Linked DNA regions of Homo sapiens: all the other regions are linked to region 2. The links are contacts of gene promoters, found by promoter capture Hi-C in human tissues and cell types (Jung and others, 2019). All regions are on one chromosome and are shown on one strand. Each heading gives the region's core, a stretch centred on a gene start or on the middle of the fragment in contact. The rest is flanking DNA. Distances are from core to core; before and after follow the strand shown. Region 1 overlaps INSL6 (insulin like 6). Region 2 holds the start of INSL4 (insulin like 4). Region 3 has its middle 5.7 kb from the start of INSL6.

The links. The method cuts DNA at HindIII sites, captures the fragments that hold promoters and counts their contacts. A contact is called where the count stands out against the background at its distance.
Region 1: a contact is called between a fragment that was not itself captured here and the fragment with the promoter of INSL4 in region 2, in 1 of the 25 tissues and cell types used here (psoas muscle).
Region 3: a fragment that was not itself captured here is called in contact with the fragment with the promoter of INSL4 in region 2 in 2 of the 25 tissues and cell types used here (pancreas and psoas muscle).

The regions. Positions count from the first base shown.
Region 1 is chr9:5,166,561-5,170,607 of GRCh38, forward strand. The region is part of intron 1 of INSL6 (insulin like 6); the gene reads right to left. Among named protein-coding and RNA genes, the nearest start is that of INSL6, 17 kb to the right of the region's middle. The HindIII fragment of the contact is 3,819 bases long and covers 1-3,322 here.
Region 2 is chr9:5,229,168-5,233,709 of GRCh38, forward strand. INSL4 (insulin like 4) reads left to right here and starts at 2,252. Exons shown (of 2, transcript NM_002195.2): 1 at 2,252-2,552; 2 at 4,487-4,542. The coding sequence starts at 2,357. RefSeq lists a promoter at 1,529-2,346. The HindIII fragment of the contact is 9,700 bases long and covers 1-4,542 here.
Region 3 is chr9:5,189,293-5,193,474 of GRCh38, forward strand. No RefSeq gene overlaps it. Among named protein-coding and RNA genes, the nearest start is that of INSL6, 5.7 kb to the left of the region's middle. The HindIII fragment of the contact is 5,042 bases long and covers 345-4,182 here.

The sequences.
Region 1 (4,047 bases), core at 163-2,662, 63 kb before region 2:
AAAGATTAAATGGATGAATTCCTAGAAAAATACAAGATGCCTTAACTGGTACACAATGACACAGAAAACCTAAGTGTACCAACAATATTCAAAGAAATGAAAAGGGTAGTCAGAGTTATCACCTTCAAAAAAACACAGATATGGGTGGTTCCACTTATTTTTAAAAAACAGTAAATTCTAATAATATACAAGTTGTTCCAGAAAACGAGCAAAAGCTGCCCAGCTCATTTTATGAAGCTGGCATAATCTTTATTCCAAAACTAGGTAAGAACAATATGAGATTTTAAAATATTTAAAAACTCATTTGACTTTCAAATGTTGATTTCAAACTCCTAAATATTAGTTAACTGAATCCATAAACACGTTTTACAAATACATTAAGAAACGGTTCGGGGAAGCAGCCAAGATGGCTGAATAGAAACACCTTTGCTCTGCAGCTCCCACCGAAAAGGACAAAAATGGCAAGTGGATTCTGCATCTTCAATTGAGTTACCAATGTTCTCTCATTGGGACTGACTAGGAGGTTGGCGTGACTCAGAGAGAGCAAGGAAAAGCACAGTGGAGCTAGGGCCCACCTGGGAGCCAGCCACACAGGGCAAAGGGAGCTCCCTTCCCCAGCCAAGGGAGGCAGTGAGGGATTGTGCTACCCCTCCCTGAAAACCATGCTTTTACCATGAATCCTTGCAACCTGGGGATCAGGAGGTCCCCTCATGAGCCCATGCCACCAGGGCCTTGGGTTCCAAGCATTAAGCTATGCAGACTGATGGTGGCTGCTGAGGTGGGTGGCACTTGAGCAGGCACTGAGACCACGAGTTCCTGGGGGGAAGAGGCAGCTGCCATTACTGTGTCTTCAGTCCACCGTTTTCCCCTACCATGATGCCAGTGCAGTTTGGATGGGGAGCAATTCCCCCACAGCACAGCACAGCGGCTGGGACAGTTTGTGGCCAGACTGCTTCTTTAGGTGGGACTCCAATCCATTCCCCCTCACGGAGCAGGGCCTCCCTGTGGGAATTTTCACATCCCCAGTGGAGGGTTTATGGATAGAACTCTGATATCCCTGAGAAGAGGCTCTAGGAGGAGGGTTGGCCACGCTATCGTGGATCAGCCATTTTAGTCTTTCCTGCCTACTGGCTCTGGAGAGGGAGATTTCTGCCAGCACAACACACCTGCTCTACCAAGGGGCAGCCAGACTGCTTATTTAAGTGGGTCCCTGATCCTATTCCTCCAAACTGGGTGAGACCTCCCAACAGGAGTGTTCTGCTGGCATCAGGTTAGCACCCCTCTGGGACAAAGTTCTCAGAGGAAGGAGCAGCCTGCCATCTTTGCTGGTCTGCAGCCTCCACGGTGATACCTCCTGGGGTGGAAGAAACCAAGGTGAATAAAGTCTGGAATGGACTCCCAGCAAACTGCAGCAACCCTATGGAAGAGTGGCCCTACTGCTAAAATAAAAACAAACAGGGAGCAACAACAACAACATAAACAAGAAAGACTTCACAAAAACCCCATCCAAAGGTCATTGGCCTCAAAGATCAAAGGTTGATAAACCCATGAAGATGAGAAATAATCAGTGCAAAAACGTTGGGAACTCAAAAAGCAAGAGTGCCTCTTCTCCAAATGATCGTAACATGACTCCATGAAGGGCACAGAACCGGGCTGAGTCAGAGATAGATAAATTGACAGAAGTAAGCTTCAAAAGATGGATAATAACAAACATCCCTGAGCTAAAGGAGTATGTTCAAACTTGTTGCAAAGAAGCTAAGAACCATAATAAAACATTACAGGAGCTGTTAACAAGAATAACCAGTTTAGAGAGGAAGACAAGTAACCTGATGGAGCTGAAAAACACAACACGTGAACTTCACGATGCAAACACAAGTTTGAAGTTTGTAGCTGAATAGACCAAGTGGAAGAAAAAATATCAGAGCTTGAAGACTATCTTGCTGAAATAAGGCAGGCAGACAAGATTAGAGAAAAAAGAATGAAAAGGAATGAATAAAACCTCCGAGAACTATGGGATTATCTTACAAGACTGAACCTATGACTAATAGGGGCACCTGAACAAGACGGGGAGAACAGAAACAAGTTGGAAAACACACTACAGTATATCATCCAGGAGAATTTCCCCAAATTAGCAAGACAGGCCAAAATTCAAATTCAGGAAATCCAGAGAACCCCAATAAGATACTTCATGAGAAGATCAGCCCAATGACATATAATCATCAGTTCTCCAAGGTCAAAATGAAGGAATGTTAAGTGCAGCCAGAGAAAGGTCGAGTCACCTATAAAGGGAAGCCCATCACACTAACAGCAGGCCTCTCAGTGGAAACCCTACAAGCCAGAAGAGACGGGCGGCCAATATTTATTTGATTTTTTTTTTTTTTTGAGATGGAGTTTCACTCTTGTCACCCAGGCTGGAGTACAATGGCATCATCTCGGCTCACTGCAACCTCGGCCTCCAGGGTTCAAGTGGTTCTCCTTCCTCACCCTTCCCAAGTCCCTGGGATTAGAGGCATGCGCCACCATGCCCGGCTAATTTTGTATTTTTAGTAAAGACAGGGTTTTGCCATGTTGGCCAGGCTGATCTCAAACTCCTGACCTCAGGTGATCCACCTGCCTTGGCCTCCCAAAGTGCTGGGATTACAGGCATGAGCCACTGCACCCAGCAGATATTCTTAAATAATTTCTAACCTATAATACTGTATCTGGCCAAACTAAGCTTTATAAGCAAAGAAGAAATAAAGGATTTTCCAAACAAGCAAATTCTGAGGGAATTCATCACCACCAGACCTGCCTTGCAAGAGCTCCTGAAGGAAGCAGTAAATATGGAAAGGAAAAACCATTATCAGCCACTACAAAAACACACCAAAGTACACAGACCAGTGACACTATGAAGCAACTACATAAACAAGTCTGCAAAATAACCAGCCAGCATCATGATGACAGGATCAAATTCACACATAACAATATTAACCTTAAATGTAAATGGGCTAATCCCCAATTAAAAGACACAAAGGGCAAGCTGGATAAACAGTCATGATCCATTGGTGTGCTGAATTCAAGAGACTCATCTCACATGCAAAGACACACATAGACTCAAAATAAAGTATGGAGGAAAATTTACCAAGCAAATGGAAAACAGAAAACAGCAAGGGTTGCAATCCTAGTTTCTGACAAAACAGACTTTAAACCAACGAAGATAAAAAAGACAAGAGCGTTACATAATGGTAAACAGGTCAATTCAATAAGAAGAGCTTACTATCCTAAATATATATGCACCCAATACAGGAGCACCCAGATTCATAAAACAAGTTCTTAGAGACCTACGAAGAGACTTAAGACTCCCACACAATAATAGTGGGAGACTTTAACACTCCACTGTCAACATGAGACTGATTGTTGAGACAGAAAATTAACAAAGATATTTAGGACTTGAATTCAACTCTGGATCAAATGGACCTGATAGATATCTACAGAACTCTCCAACCCCAAACAACAGATATAGATTCTTCTTGGCACCACGTGGCACATCACATAATTGGAAGTAAAACACTCCTCAGCAAATGCAAAAGAACTGAAATCATAACAAACAGTCTCTAAGACCACAGCACAATCAAACTAGAACTCAAGATTAAGAAACTCACTCAAAACCACATAAGTACATGGAAATTCAACAACCTGTTCCTGAGTGACTCCTGGGTAAATGATAAAATTAAGGCAGAAATCAAGAAGTTCTTTGAAATCAATGAGAACAAAGAAACAACGTATCAGAATCTCTGGGACATAGCTAAAGCAGTCTTAACAGGAAACTTTATAGCGCTAAATGCCCATATCAAAAAGGTAGATCTCAAATCAACACCCTAACGTCACAACCAAAAGAAGTAGAGAACCAAGAGCAAACAAACCCCAAAACTAGAGAAGAAATAACCAAGCTTAGAGCAGAACTGAAGGAGACCAGAGACACGAAAAACCCTTCAAACAATCAATGAATCCAGGGGCTTTTTTTTTTTTTGGAAAAACTAATAAAATAGACCACTAGGTAGGCTAATA
Region 2 (4,542 bases), core at 1,002-3,501:
TAGCTGCAGGTAGCCTCAAAACGGAAATCAAGTCTGCTTTCCCAAACATTCCTTCCTGTGCTAAAGAACAAAGCCGGAAAAATAACGGATTCCACTTTAGCTGGGAGATCTGTCATGGGGAATAAGCTCATAGCCTCCAGTTAGGCAATTATAACATCCTAGACTGGAGCCCCTGTGGCCATTTGTAGGGCAGCCTTACTGATATCCTCATCCATCATGGCATCGATCACAGTTTCATAGCCTCGTCCCATTCCCTTATGATTTGGGCCGATGGGAGGATAGGATATCCCAGACCCCGAGTAAAGTTGATGCCTCCCCAAGACACTTTATGTTGCCTGGGACATCTTAGCACCTCCCTTGACACCTGGCATGGGACATATCATAATTACAGTAACAACTATACTATAACCTTTATTCATAATCACACTGATCAGTCCCTAATTTGCAACTCCATCCATATGTTTTCCTTATGGGAACTAATATTTCTATTACAACCCAAAATTCCATGTTTGTGACCCGGGTGCAAGGACAGGCTTTGTTTGCCTCATGTACCACTAATTACAATATATCTAATTTAAATACTACTAGTGTCATGGTATTAAGGAGACAATCTGAGGCATTCCTACCCGTCAATTTGACACACTATTGGCAAGGTTCCTCTTCCTTTGCCACCTTAGAATGTGCCCTATCCCAGGTCAGACCCAAAAGATTTATAGGCACACTTATAACCTTTATAGTCTCAGCCATAGTCATCCTAGCAACTGCTAGTGTGGCTATAGCATCTACTACCGAATCAGTGCAAACAGCTGCTTTTGTAGACAATTTGGCCAGAAATGTGTCTAATGAACTTCTCTTACAGCAGGGTATAGATCAAGAGATTCTTGCACGTCTGCAAGCCCTCGAGGCTGCCTTGGAATTTGTGGGGGAGCGACAAGATGCCCTAGCATTCTGATAGCAATTAAACTGTGACTGGGAGCATAAACATATCTGTGTCACATTTTTACCTTGGAATCAATCAATACATAGTTGGGATGAGGTGAAACAACACCTCTGGGGAAACTTTCATGACAATTTAACAGCAGACGTAAAGCAACTTAAAACTAAAATTTTAGAATCCCTTCACATGATAGATCTACATACTCAACAAACAGCCATATGGAAAGGTGTGCAAGATCATTTCTCCTGGTTATACCCCCGATCCTGGGGGTCACACTTTGACTGGAAAGGAATGTTACTAATTATACTCATGATTGTCTTACGTTATTTGCTAATTCTATGATGCAAAGCCGGAATAAAAGCAAAACCTAACAAACCTGTTGCTGCACACATCTGTACTCTTAAGTCAACAGAACCCGATGCAAAGAACAGAAAGGGGGGAGATGTGAGAGTTCAGTCAGGCTGGTGGGAAAATTTTTTCAGATAGTTATAAGAAAAAGACGCAAACCTTTTTGAAACGCCGGAGGGGTTTGTATAAGCTCCAGTAATAGATCAGGCTGAAGGCAGCCTAATCCTTACCTTGAGTTAATAGCTTAAGGCACAGATACAAATGAATGTAGTTTATCTAGTTTGTTTACTCATGTGGTCCTAAGACTAATCTTTGATCAACCGCGGGTGCATAATTGCTCTCTACTCGGGAGGTTGGCAATGTCAATTACCTTCTAGTGGTGTTTACTCAAGACCTTCGTCATTTAATCTATGCTGAATAAATGTGAGCTTTGCTGGCTGATCGGGGCCACGGCTGCAACTCTTTACAGCACCCTCCTTGGTGTCTGTAGGTGGCCCGGACCCTCAGCTGGACTGACAGGCAAACTATCTGTGTCAGTGTATGTTATTCATCCGTCGTTGGGTCAGGGTCTGTGGGACAGACCCCCGCAATTAAAAGCTTATATGCCAAATGTTAACTAAGATAATTTCTAGCCAATGAGCTTACAGGTCAGTTCTATTTTTATTTCATCTAAGCAAAGGACATTAAAAATTACCATTATTTTAGTAAGCATAAAAATAGTATTACAGGAGGAAAGTTAAGAAAAAGAAGTAGAACAACCAAATTCAAAACAAGCAAAGTGCAGCAGCACATTGGGAGCAAAGAGGGATATGAGAGTGTGGGTAGGGCAAGTAGGGAGACTAAATAAGAACTGAGGGAGAAAGTTCCTTGTAGGTGGGTGGGAAAGGGGTGGAACTGACACCATTGACGCAAAAGCTGAGTAATAGCCCTAAGCAAATAAATGCCTGATGAAGGCATGCAGAAAGCAGTCTGGAGCCCAGAAGGGACACACCAGCACAGTCTGGTAGGCTACAGCAGCAAGTCTCTAAAGAAAGGCTGAGAACACCCAGAACAGGAGAGTTCAGGTCCAGGATGGCCAGCCTGTTCCGGTCCTATCTGCCAGCAATCTGGCTGCTGCTGAGCCAACTCCTTAGAGAAAGCCTAGCAGCAGAGCTGAGGGGATGTGGTCCCCGATTTGGAAAACACTTGCTGTCATATTGCCCCATGCCTGAGAAGACATTCACCACCACCCCAGGAGGGTGGCTGCTGGAATCTGGACGTCCCAAAGGTGAGAGCCCTGGACTACCAAACAATCAGAATGAGGCCTGAAAAAACAGGCTCCAGATCTCATTGACTGCCTGTAGTCAACTCAGACTCTACTGTGGCTAGTGCCTACAAGTTTGTGGTTTTTCATTGTAATGTGCTTTTATTAAAAGGGTCTCACCAGAAATCTCATGGGAAGTTGGGGGTAGAGGAGAAGCTGCAGGAAAAACAGAAGAACAGCCTCACCTTGGAGGCTCTTGGTGCCTTTCCCACCTGGCAGCCAGAGATACAGGGTGGAGAAAACAGGGAATCCTCAGAGAAGGTGACTATTCTCAAACACCAGCAGGAGGTGAGGTGTACTCCCAGACCCCCAGGAAAGCTGGGCAGGCCAGAAAACAGGTGTGATTGCAATGAGATGCCTGGGCCAGGCATCTTCAATTAAGAAGAAAGGGGACAAACAGTGAGGTGATGAGCTGATTATCATTTCTGTTTATGCACCTATTGGCCTAGGGGCAGCACACTGAGACCTCTGTTAGGTTCCTGGAATGTGAGATAAAGGGGGCTTAGATTTAATAACTCTCATCCTTTGTCATTAAGCTGGGCAGTGGTCTATGTCACCAAAAACGTCCTCTTACAAAAAAGTTTTTTTTAATGCACACCAACAGAGCACCTTGCCTCCCATTTCTTTGAATCTACTCTTGTAGTGTGTTGAGAGAGATGAGATGAAGAGAAAGAAAGTGGCCTGGATGACTAGAGGGGAAATTGAAGGGGACCAGAGACAAGGGAATTTCACTGTTCAGACCATCATAGCTGATTTGATTAGTGTTTTCAACATTTGAGACTGCAAAGCATTTTCTTTAAAAGCAAGATTTCAGAATTGAGGAAAGTTCAATACCAGGATAGTTTTCAAACTTTACCAAGTAACAAGGTATTCATAAAGATAAATTGCCAGCTAAGTTAAAACTAGCAGGGGCAGTTTCGAAAAGAGATAGAGGCTACTATATTCTGTCTAATAGGTCGTATTAAGTTCTGAAAAGCTAAGTTAAATTACTAAACATTGTTTTACATTTAATACAAATGACACAGGTTTTGAACCAGCAATGTGTGACTCCAGAACTGCTTCTTGTAACCCATATGCATACACTTCATTAAATCATTAAATGACTCTGTTTAAAGTTATCGTGCACAGTGAATGCACTTGGATTTTGTGTGATTTATATAACGATTTCAAAGTTATTTCCTTTTTTTACATTATTAGTCAGAGCTTGTTTCATTTTACTATAAAATAAGGGAAGAATACCACAAAGTCCAAACAATTTCTAATGCAAACTAAGGAAGAGCATGCTGTACTATAATTTCTATTTAAATTTCACTTTTTTTCAGTAAATAAGTGAAAATCCTCATTTAAATACTTTGACAAATATAGATAAATTTAACAAGAAAAATGGAAAGTATTCATGGATAACAAATGTTAACATTTGGTGTCGACACATATAGATGTATGTTGCTTCTCAGCCTTTTAGCTAAGATCCACTGATATAGATGTATAGATTTATGTGGATCAGATTTGAATATCTGAATCTTTCTATTAGAATAACTTGTGATTATAAAAAAAATTCCCTATTGCTATCCAGTACATAATGCATTGAGGTTATCAATCAAAACAGTGTCAGGGAGAGTCAAAAGTGGTATGGTATAGGCATTTAGAGGGTCATTAGAAGAGTGCATAGAGGGGACAGGATGAGGAGTTAGCATATCCTTAATATTGTAGTATCTTAAAGTGCCCTACTCTAAGTAAGCTAAGTTGTTGAAATGTTAGGATACTTGCTGATTCTCTCTGGTGTTTAATTACATGGAGGCAATGGGTACATTGTGGTCTAGGCAAATTGTATAATTTTTCTGATCCTCTTTCACATGAATGTTTTTCCTCACCTTTCATTCCTCTCTTTTACTTCACAGAAATGGTGTCAACCTCCAACAACAAAGATGGACAAGCCTTAGGTACGACATCAGAA
Region 3 (4,182 bases), core at 1,616-4,115, 39 kb before region 2:
GTTCTTTTTCTACCTACTTAAGGTGTACCTACTTATTAGTGCTGATATGGTTTGGCTCTGTGTCCCCACCCAAATATCATCTTGAATTATAACTTTGCAGAGGAAGGGATGAGGGACATGGGCCAGGGACAGGCTCGATCTGGGAAGCTGCCTTTTACTTCTGGGGCAGCATGTTTGTCTTGTTCTAGCATTAACTTTACTGGGCATTGTCCTCATCCTTTTGGATTGCAATCAGTATTTCAGACAGCACTCTTGCTGGCTTTATCCCAGGTAGCTGATGGTCTCTGAGGTTCTGAAGCTCTTTTCTGAATTCCCTTCCTCATAGCCTTCTATCTGTACCATCTTCCAGTCTCCACTTCATCCAGTCAGAGGTTCTTAGAGAAACTCATTTTGATTTATGATCATATCTGCCACTTTTTAAATTTCATGATCAATTTCTTACTAACAACTTCATATTTTCTGTGAATTCCTCACTGTTTTTCCTGACTTGACAACAGGAAACAATTTACATCGAATCCCTAACAACTTCTAAAACTGAAGTTTCTGGTTTTTAACAAATTAAATTTTAAATTTTGTGATAATTACAGATTCACACATGCCAATGTAATAAATAATTACTAGACCCTTTCCAGTTTTGCCAAAAGGTAACAGCTATGAAACTACAGCATGTATCAAAATGAGGATATTGACAGTTGAACAGTCATGATATAAATCTGTTCCACCACCATAAGGATTCCTTAAAGTCATACCAACTTCCAACCTGCGCCCTAACCCACTCCTTAAATTTTGAAAAAAAAGATTTTCCATTTTTAAATTTTATCATTTTGTGAATGTTTTAGAAATGAAATCATAAGCATGTAACTTTCTGGAGTTAGTGAAAAAACTCAGCCTGATCTCTGGATAGTCATGTGGCTTGATGCACTTGTCACTAGTTGGCTGTTTTTATTGTTGAATCTTATTCAATGGTGTGGATATACCACAGTTTGTGTAACTAACATGCATAAAGAACATTTTGTGTAGTTGCAGTGTTTGGCGATTACAAATCAGCCTATATAAACATTCATGTGCAGAATTTATGTAAATATTAATTTTAAATTTCTGGGAAAATGTTCAAGAATATAATCTCTGGTTTGTAAGATGGTTGCATGGTTACATGTTTAGTTTTTCTTAAAAAGTCACCAAAATATTTTCTGGGGTGGCTGTACCATTTTGTAGTCCCAGGAGAAAATTTTGCCTCTGTGTCTTCTCAGAAGAGTGGTTTATTTTTATTTCTGTGTATCAAGGGAGGGAAGAGAGGTAAATGAGCGTATTCTTCACCACCCTGACTGTCCTGTCTGGATTTCTCCAGGCTCTGTTATGCATTGAATTGTGTCCCCGAAGTGATCCACTGAAACCATAAATACCTGTATTTCAGAATGGGACCTTTATAGACCCTAGCGTGGCTGTAGATGTAGTTAGTTAGAATGAGGTCCCTCTGGAGCTGGGCCCTATATTCAGCAGGATGGATATCCTTACACAAAGATAATGTGAAGACAAAGGAACAGAGAGCACCATGTGTCAAGAGGGACAACATTGAAGAGCTGCAGCTACAACCAAGGAATGCCAAAAAGCAGCAGCAATCCATGTGAAGTTAGGAAGAAGAAAAGAGGATGCTCCCCAAAGGTTTCAGAACAACATTGGCACTGCCAACACCTGGATTTTAGCTTGCAGCATTCAGAACCATGAGAAAAAAAAATTCTTTTGTTTTAAACCAGTTTAGGTTCTTCGTTACATCCACCCTGGGAATCTCACAGTAGGGCCTTAGAGCTATTCTAGGAGTCTGTCCTTTTACTTCAATTGTCACACTGATTTATAAAGAATATTAAAACTAAGAATAAAGGGAAATTTATATCTTCCAAATGTCCTCCAGGAAGCAAAGCTTTGAACATTTCTTGGTTAAGAGATTTAAAATTATATATACTAGTAAAATTATGAAACTTCATCTATTATCATTTTTCCCTCACATCTGGACTAATGCCAGGGAGAAGGAAAGGCTGAAAAGGTTAGTGATCAGTGTGTGTGTTAGGATAATTTCTTGAGATGTTATCCTGGCTTGGCATGATACTGTATTATTCCGTCTCACATTTCCATTCCCCAGCCCAGTTCAAGCAGGCTGCCTGGGCCTTGGTTTTTGCCCGTCTAGCTTACTTTTGAAGGGCTATGCTAGAAAGGAGATGCCTAAAGCTGCACTTCCAATTGTTTATAAATGCCCAAAGACATATAAAAAGTTATACAAGTAACCCTGATAGGACTTGAGCCAGAGAGAGAGTGAAATACAGAGACAGACACAGAAAAAGAAACAGAAGGGAGATAATATGATTATTTCCTTAAATTACCCTGAGGTTGAAACTTCCCTATCCAAGGGAAGAGATATGATCCTTGTCAGCATTCTTTCTGTCCCCAGTGAGGGACACAAGTACAGAGGTGAGAGGACCATGTGGGATTGCACTGAGTGTTGCAGCGGTAGCCATTGAGGACAGTGCAGCCCAAGGATCTTAGTGCTTTGGCGCTAAGACCCTGGGTTCAGTGCACACCTTCATGGGTGTCCCCATTAGAACAATGTCTGATGTTGAATTCTCTACTAAGTAACAGAATTGGGATTGCTATTGATTTAGTAAAGAAGAAAGGTGGATATTTTCTGCACGTGAGAGACTGTGCCTTAAAATTGATACCTGTTGCGCAAAAACAGTCTTTGGGAATAAGAAAGGTAGGGGTCATGACACATCTGGGAAACTAGAGGGAAAAATGGAGAGAAAGATAGGCTAGTAGTAGGAGTATGTACTGGTGCAGACTGAGGCAACTACTTCAGTAGATAGTAGATAATAGTGACAGCCCTCAGTGTTATCAGTTAAGGACGAACTTGGAGAAAATGTGTTCTGGAATGGACAGTGAGCTGTGTACTGCAGATAAGTAAGTCTGAATGCAAGAGTTACAATGAGCAACAAAGGTTCCACCATGAAAGCACAACTCTTAAAACATGTTGGCTTTCTCCCCAAACAGTTACATTCTGTCGTTCTCTGCTCTCTCAATGAGAAGAAGCTCTCCAGGAGGGACTAAGAGAGGACATGATAAACCTTAGAGCCTTGGTTATGATTGACCATGTATGGAACTTTGGAATATAGGAACTTCTATGTTAGTCTCCTATAATTCTGTTTACAGACATTTGATTGAAGCAATTTACTTTTTCTAAAGTAAATTTTTTCTAAAGTGCATTTTCTCTGTAAAGGCTAGCTAATATGTATGGATACAGAGGTTGAAGAAACTGACTAAATTTAAAAATGATACCATGATGTTTTACCAACTCTAAGAAATGCTCATATTATTTCATGGTTTGTTTTACTTACGTAAATGTTCTGTAAATTCTAAAATGGTAGACTTGAATCCATTTCCTCGCTAGTTCTTTCTGAGACAAAAAATGAGTTATTTATTCAGTTATCTCTATGATTATATATTTATTTAAAAGCATAAAAAACCTTACTAGAGAAACAGTTGAGTTCATTTGGGCACAAAAATCTGAATATATTTATTGTCAGTTCAGCTTGCTTTCAAATAATATTTCACTAAGCCCCAAACCCTCCCACTTCCAATGAAGTAAAATATTGCAGTGTTTGTGGTTTTGTGTTCATGTAGTATACGTTGACAAAATTGATTAAATAAATGTATAACTGTTACATGTGGTTGGTGTCAGTTATGTATAAAAAGTTATTATGTTGGTTAAAGTAATAAAGCTTTTATAATCATTATATAGTCAATGAGATTCAAAAGCAATTGATTTACATATACTCTCAATAAAAAAGAGAAAGAGACTTTTTCAGCAGAAAAAAGATCAATTTCATAGAAGTACAATAGTGAAAAGACTATGGTGTTACAGAGCAAGTGAAACATGTAAGCATTAATAATGATTTCTCACATTCTAACAATCAGTGGTCACTGAATTGGACATCACTGAATGTTTCATGGAGAATACATAGGAGGTTAGGTGAGAAGTTCACAATTACTTTACTTTGTGCATACTTTCAGAAAAGTCCCTTTGTCACAACATTCTTCACAGCATAGTTTACTGGCATCATCAGCTTCACTTCTCTTTTGTCAGGAAAGTAGTACCTTTCTCAGTGACAGCTACCCCTCAGACAGAATTGCCTT